2 separate regions of the Homo sapiens genome follow, and region 2 is linked to region 1. Evidence: promoter capture Hi-C in human tissues and cell types (Jung and others, 2019). All regions are on one chromosome and are shown on one strand. The core of a region is centred on a gene start or on the middle of the fragment in contact, and the rest is flanking DNA. Distances in the headings are between cores, read along the strand shown.

The links. The method cuts DNA at HindIII sites, captures the fragments that hold promoters and counts their contacts. A contact is called where the count stands out against the background at its distance.
Region 2: a contact is called between a fragment that was not itself captured here and the fragment with the promoter of PGRMC1 in region 1, in 1 of the 25 tissues and cell types used here (aorta).

Annotation. Positions count from the first base shown.
Region 1 is chrX:119,234,626-119,237,866 of GRCh38, forward strand. It overlaps PGRMC1 (progesterone receptor membrane component 1), which reads left to right and starts at 1,660. Exons shown (of 3, transcript NM_006667.5): 1 at 1,660-2,066. The coding sequence starts at 1,739. It also overlaps the pseudogene NUDT19P6. RefSeq lists silencers at 1,383-1,432, 1,463-1,722, 2,123-2,272. The HindIII fragment of the contact is 12,683 bases long and covers 1-3,241 here.
Region 2 is chrX:119,381,280-119,385,074 of GRCh38, forward strand. No RefSeq gene overlaps it. Among named protein-coding and RNA genes, the nearest start is that of SLC25A43, 16 kb to the right of the region's middle. The HindIII fragment of the contact is 3,028 bases long and covers 1-2,902 here.

The DNA.
Region 1 (3,241 bases), core at 410-2,909:
ATTTTTCATATGCTTATTCACCACTGGCATGCTCTCTTTTGTGAACTACCTGTTCCTATTTTTTCCCATTTATTGACTAGAATCTTATACATTTTCTTATCAATCCAAATGATCTCTCAAATAAATATTAACCCTTTGTCATATTAGTTGCAAATGAAAATATTTTATAAGTTTATTAGCTTTCTAAATTTTCTTGGCCATACATGTTAAAAGAGATAGATTCTAACTATAGACAAGTGCCCTCAGTTTGAGCCTGTTTCTCCATGATTAAATTGAAGAGTTTTGACAAAAGATTTGGAGGGGCTGTTTCAGCTAATCCCAAATTTAGCTCTGAGAAAAATGCCTGGGCCCGATACAAAGATTGTTTGGCTCATTGCACTTTATAATGATTTAAGAAGATGTGGGGGGCAGGGATGGAAGCAGTTTTTGCCAGAAATTTTTAGAATTCTGAGGTAGGAAGCCAATCTTTACTCAAGTCTCTTGCGTGTTGGGAGGAGGAGTAAGTTATGTGCAAGCCAACAGAACACTTGGTGGAAAAGTACTGCTCTGGGCTGCAGATGTGTGCACGGCTTGGTTTTAATTATTTGTTTCCCTCTCTATCCTTTCTTCTCCTCCCCTCCCCCCGCCACCAGAAAAAGGGCCAGATTAGGACGAGGCAACCCCTTCCTCCGTGGAGGTCTGCTTCTGTGCAGCCTGTTAGCACATCAAAGGCCGGATGAAATACCTAGGAAAGGAAGGGACCAGGCCTAGGATCCTTCCAAACTCCCGCCTTTGTCTGGGCTCCAGCTCAGGGTTATTGTGACTGCCAAGGGTAGCCTGACAGACTCCAAATAGAAGAACGCTGCCAAACAAAGAAACTTTCACATTATTCTGAGGGGGGAAAAAAGAGCAACAAGAGAACGTTGCTTGTTAATGCCTGGTGACTGAGCAAATCAGTAATTGCAAAAGGGTTTTTCGGAGAACAAACCCAAAGTTAACTGGGCGATCAGATTCGTTTCCCCAGATAATAGGGAGAGTTGTGCACTGACTTTAGCAATCCCGGGGGTGTCGGTCCCACAGCATCTGGGGGAGAATTGGGGAAGGGCCATCAAGGAGAGCGAATGGGGGTTCCCAAGGTGAAAATGAGTCGTGTAGGGCTCTAACATAGAAAATGGAGTTCGAAGAATGAGTTTCCTGTCTCCTAAGACAGCTTGGAGGGCCCGGGAACGGCAGGGGGAAGATGAGGGGCTTCAGAATGGGAGGCAGGGAAAAGCCTGCAGCAACAGAAAGGGAGTCGGTGTCTGGCGCGCATCAGGTGGCGGAGGGGCGCTCGCACAGAGCCCGGCAATGCCGAGGCCCTCCCAACGGGTCGGTCTGCGAGGAGCAAAAAAGGGGTTCAGAGGAGGGCAGCGCGTGCGTCGCGCTCAGCTATAGGATGGCGCGAGGATGGCGTGAGGCTGGGCTGGGGCCTCCCAGGTAGAACTGAGGGGGGCACCGCGCGGCCGCGGGGGAGCGGCGCCGGACTCTAGAGGCTTTGGAGGGGGCCTGAGGGCTGCGGGGCGGGACCGAGCAGGGCGGGGCGCTTAGGTGGCCTCGGGGGAGGCGGGGCTTGGAGGCTCCGCCCCTCAGGCCCCGCCTCCTCCCCGGCTAGTCTTTGGCCGCCGCCGAACCCCGCGCGCCACTCGCTCGCTCAGAGGGAGGAGAAAGTGGCGAGTTCCGGATCCCTGCCTAGCGCGGCCCAACCTTTACTCCAGAGATCATGGCTGCCGAGGATGTGGTGGCGACTGGCGCCGACCCAAGCGATCTGGAGAGCGGCGGGCTGCTGCATGAGATTTTCACGTCGCCGCTCAACCTGCTGCTGCTTGGCCTCTGCATCTTCCTGCTCTACAAGATCGTGCGCGGGGACCAGCCGGCGGCCAGCGGCGACAGCGACGACGACGAGCCGCCCCCTCTGCCCCGCCTCAAGCGGCGCGACTTCACCCCCGCCGAGCTGCGGCGCTTCGACGGCGTCCAGGACCCGCGCATACTCATGGCCATCAACGGCAAGGTGTTCGATGTGACCAAAGGCCGCAAATTCTACGGGCCCGGTACGCGGCCGGCGAGGGGGGCTTGGAGACAAAAGAAGGGGGCCCCGGCACGGGGCTGGGCGGGAGAGAGGCGAGGCGGGAGCGGGGCGCCCCTGAGTGGAGGGAGGAATGGCGGCGAGCTAGGGTAGGCGGGTAGGCGGGCAGGCGGAGAGCCGGGAGGCTCCCGGGGCGGGCAGGGAACAAGAGGCGCTCTAGAGGGGCTGCGGGCCAGTCAGGGACGCGGATCCCCGGCCCGCGCTGACAGCGCTGGGAGGGGGTTAGAGAAAGAAGGCTGAGGCGCTTAAGCCGGGGGTGGGTGGGACCACGAAGCTCGAAGGCGTTGAGGGGGGACACATCAAAGCCCAGGCTGTTGGGGTAGTTTTCGAAGGTCCTGGGCTTGGGGATTCCTGGAAGGAGGAGGGGGTAGTGTCGGGTTCTAGGAAGGAAATGAGGGTGTTCCGAGGGAGGCATGGGGGAGGGCGAGAGTGAGAAAAGGTCCAGACCTAGAGAAGACGGGAAGGCCAATGACACCGGGAGTAGGTTTGAAATATGAGGGTGTGGGAGAAAACGCCGAGACGGGATTAGCAGCAGGTAAAAGCTTTGTGCCCGGTGGATAGTGATGTGTGTGTGCACTCGTGGTGTGTGCATGCGCGGTGTGTGCGTGTTTAGTGTATGTGATTTATCAGGGGTGTGTGTGTGTGGTGTGTGCATGCGCGCTTGAAATGGGTCATGCGTCAGGTATGTGTGTGGCATGTGTTTGGTCTGTGTGCGCTTGTGCTGTGTGTGGCAGATGGGGAAAGGCTGGAAGGTGAACAAGGAGGAAGGGGGCTGTTTGAGGGAGGAATAAAGGCTGAATATGGTGGACAATGGTAACGTGGCAAGCTTTTAAGGTAATATGGTATTTAGTCTATAGCAGGAGAGAAAGGATTAGAAGCCAAGAAAAATTAAAATGGAGGGAGGGAGAAGTGGGAGGATACCAAGAAACAAAAGGAGTAGAGCTAAGAAGACTGCTGGGTGGGGGGATATCAGGAAAAGCCAACCAGAGGGAAATGAAGAATGGATGACTGCTGCACTGCTGAGCTGTTGGAGAAGGCAGGCCTGATGGGTTCCTTAGAGGCGAGGTTTTTGCAAACCTGGTTGCGTATCAGAATCACCTGATGCATCTGAGGAAAAATACAGATTCCCAGTCTAACCGC
Region 2 (3,795 bases), core at 139-2,638, 150 kb after region 1:
TTCACAGGAACTCTGAACAAGAACTCTGAAGTTAATCCAAGCAACACAAAGGATGGACTGTGGCAAGCATGGAGCTGCATAGCTCAGAGCTCCCATCAAGAAAGACTTTGCCATGGAACTATGAGGAGTGAAGTTAGCTTACAGCCTCAGGTTGCAGGACCTTCCAAGACTGGCTGCAGTATTCTTGACAAAACCATGCTTTCCCTGGGCAGCCTCCAGTCAATAACTAAGCAAGGTGGCAGTTCTAGGGCCTGGCCACTTCTGCCCAATGTGAGACTCTTTTAAGAGGCAGTCTTTCCTCCAGAACTCCCCACTGGGTTGAGACCAAGACTTTGTCATATTTGCCTCAAAGTCTAAGGCAACTCTGCCAAATTCTGTTTCCACCCCTTATCCTTTCACATGTGTCAGATATGCATTGTAGTTTGAATGCCTTTCCTGCCCAATCTTGCTCTCTGCCCTTTTATCTTTCACAGGTATTAGCCACAATCAACATCCTGCATTCCTAACTCCGTATTAGCATCTGCTTCCTAGAGGACCCAAATAGACACAATTAGCCACACACCACTGCCATCCACTTTGGGGAAATTCTTCAGAATACACTTAATCAAGCATTTCAAGAGTCTCTTCATTATGATCAAAATGTTTTCAGCAAGTTCTTCAGTTTAATTCATAACTAGGAAAATCAGATAATGAAAACCATTTAATACCACAGCCTCACAATCTCCATCAAGGCATGTGTGCTGCCAGTTGCAGTGGCTCACACCTGTAATCCCAGCACTTTGGGAGGCCGAGGCAGGCAGATCACGAGGTCAGGAGATCGAGACCATCCTGGCTAACATGGTGAAATCCCGTCTCTACTAAAAACACAAAAAATTAGCCGGGTGTGGTGGCACGCGCCTGTAGTCCCAGCTACTCGGAAGGCTGAGGCAGGAGAATGGCATGAACCCGGGAGGCAGAGGTTGCAGTGAGCCGAGATCGTGCCACTGCACTCCAGCCTGGGGGACAGAGTGTGACACTCAGTCTCAAAAAAAAAAAAAAAAAGGCATGTGTGCTGTAGCTACAGTTTTTACAATCACTGCATTCGGTTTATCTGGAAGGATAGAACACTGATGAAGCTTGTCATACAAGCATACATTTGGGCTGCGTAAAGTTAATCTTAATCATGCTTATGATCATTCAGATTAAGGGTTTTTGTTCCAGAAAGATACAAGATTTTTCTTGAAACTCAGTCAAGTGATGAATTTTCCTTAGGGAAGTCAGTGACTTCCTTGAGCAAAAGTAGTTATTTATGGTCATTACCCTAACCTCATAACAAAGCTGGAAAAAAAAAACTTTAACATAACTGGCAAGCATTAAGTGCTTCTCATAACCTTCATGTGTAGCTCAGGTAGAGAGGGCTTTCTTGTGGTCAACAGTGTGTAGCTGTGTTAGTTAGTGCTATTGTTTGGATGTTTGTTCCCCCAAAACTCATGTGGAAATTTGATCCCCAGTGTTGGAGATGGGGCCTATTAGGAGATGTTTGGGTAATGGGGCAAATCTCTCATGAATAGATTAATGCCCTAGGGAGGGAAGTGGTGAGTGAGTTCTCACTCTATTACTTCTCATGAGAGCTGGTTGTTAAAAAGAGCCTAGTACCTCCCCCTTCTCTCCCTTGCTTCCTCTCTTGCCATGTGATCTCTGCATACACTGGCTCCCCTTTGCCTTCTACCATGAGTGGAAGCACCCTGAGGCTTTTACCAAGATGCCCAACATTCCAGCCCGTGGAACCATGAGCCAAACAAACCTCTTTTCTTTATTAGCTCAGATATTTCTTTTTCTTTCTTTCTTTTTTTTTTTTTTTAGACAGCGTCTCACTCTGTGACCCAGGCTGGAGTGCAGTGGCACAATCTCAACTCACTGCAACCACTGCCTCCCAGACTCAAGCAATTCTTGTGCCTCAGTCTCCCGAGTAGCTGAAACTACAGGTGTGCACTACCACATCCAGCCAATTTTTTGTATTTTTAGTAGAGATGGGGTTTTGCCACATTGGCCAGGCTGGTCTTTTTGTTTGTTTGTTTTTGTTTTTGTTTTTGTTTTTGAGACAGAGTCTGGCTCTGTCACCCAGGCTGGAGTGCAGTGGCACGATCTTGGCTCACTGCAACCTCTGCCTCCTGGGCTCAGGCGATTCTCGTGCCTCAGACTCCCAAGTAGCTGGGACTACAGGCACACACCACCATACCTTGCTAATTTTTTGTATTTTTAGTAGAGATGAAGTTTCACTATGCTGGCCAGGCTGGTCTCGAACTCCTGGCCTCAAGTGATCTGCCTGCCTTGGCCTCCCAAAGTTCTGGGATTACAGACATGAGCCACTGCGCCCAGCCAGATATTTCTGCATACCGACACAAACAGACTGAGACAGTCAGGTAGACTAGAATCTGCTGTGGTAACGAAGAAACCCTGAAATTTCAGTGGCTTAACCAAAGGTTGATTTTTCACTCACACAAAGTCCTATGAGATGGTTCCTGTATGAGCAACTCTCCAGGGTGGTTTTCCTCTGAGGGGTAAACCCAAGGATACAGGTTCCTTGCATCGTGTTCCACCATTTCAGAGTCCTTTGCTTCCTGCTGTACAAGAGCAAAGAGATTTATTAATAGCATGAAAAATCATGAAGGGTATTACATGGTTTAGGCCTAGAAGTGGCAGTTATCAATCCTACACATGTTCCCTTGCCAAAACAAAACCACATGGTCCCATTTAGGCAAAAAGAAAGCTTGGAAATGTAAGGGAGCATGTGGATATTGGTGGATAGTCTCTGGCATAATAGACTTTGCTTTTGATATAACAGCTTGAAAACATGAAACAAGCTCTAACGTTGGATTTACCTAAGCTTTCACACTCTTTATAGTTTATCCTGACACATCACCTTCAGTCTAAGTTATTCACATAAAGTCATCAATAAGCTTAAATTTCTTCTCTATCTCAATTAATTACATCACCATCCACCCATTTGCTCAAGTGCAAAACTTAAAATTTATCTGTGTTTCTGCTACATAGAAACTGGATAAAAGAGCCGGGCATGGTGGCTCACGCCTGTAATCCCACTACTTTGGGAGGCCGAGGCGGACAGATCACCTGAGGTCAGGAGTTCGAGACTAGTCTGGCCAACATGGTAAAACCCTGTCTCTATGAAAAATACAAAAATTAGCTGGGCATGGTGGCGGGTCCCTGTAATCCCAGCTACTCGGGAGGCTGAGACAGGAGAATCGCTTGAACCCAGGAGGCAGAGGTTGCAGTGAGCCAAGATCCCACCAGTACACTCCAGCCTGGGCAACAAGAGCAAAACTCCATCTCAAGAAAAAAAGAAACTGGATAAAAGAAAGCCAAAGAGCCCTGTGCAGGAGTGATCCCAGAGCAGCTTCTATGAATATTACAATTCCACTTGGAAGGAATTCCTAAAGTGAAGATGGATTGGCAGAATTACCTGTGAAGTTATGCTCACAATGTCAGGTTCATTTAAAAAAAGAAAATAAAATAGAACGACCTATGAAGAGTATTTTAATATTTCCCTTTGCTCTAAGGCTGTGTTTTATACTAACTTCTTATTGCAGTGTGATAGCCCATTAAGACTTCCCTAAAGGGAAGAGGGTTCCCTGAATATCCTATGTGAGTATTCAGGTCTGCTTAACAGTTATAGTTCTCACTGTCAATTAATAAACTGACATTTTGGTTCATATATATCTGTAACTTATGAGTAGAATCATTCATTCATTCATATATTTAACAAATATTTATTGAGTGCCTAGTAGGCTACAGTTT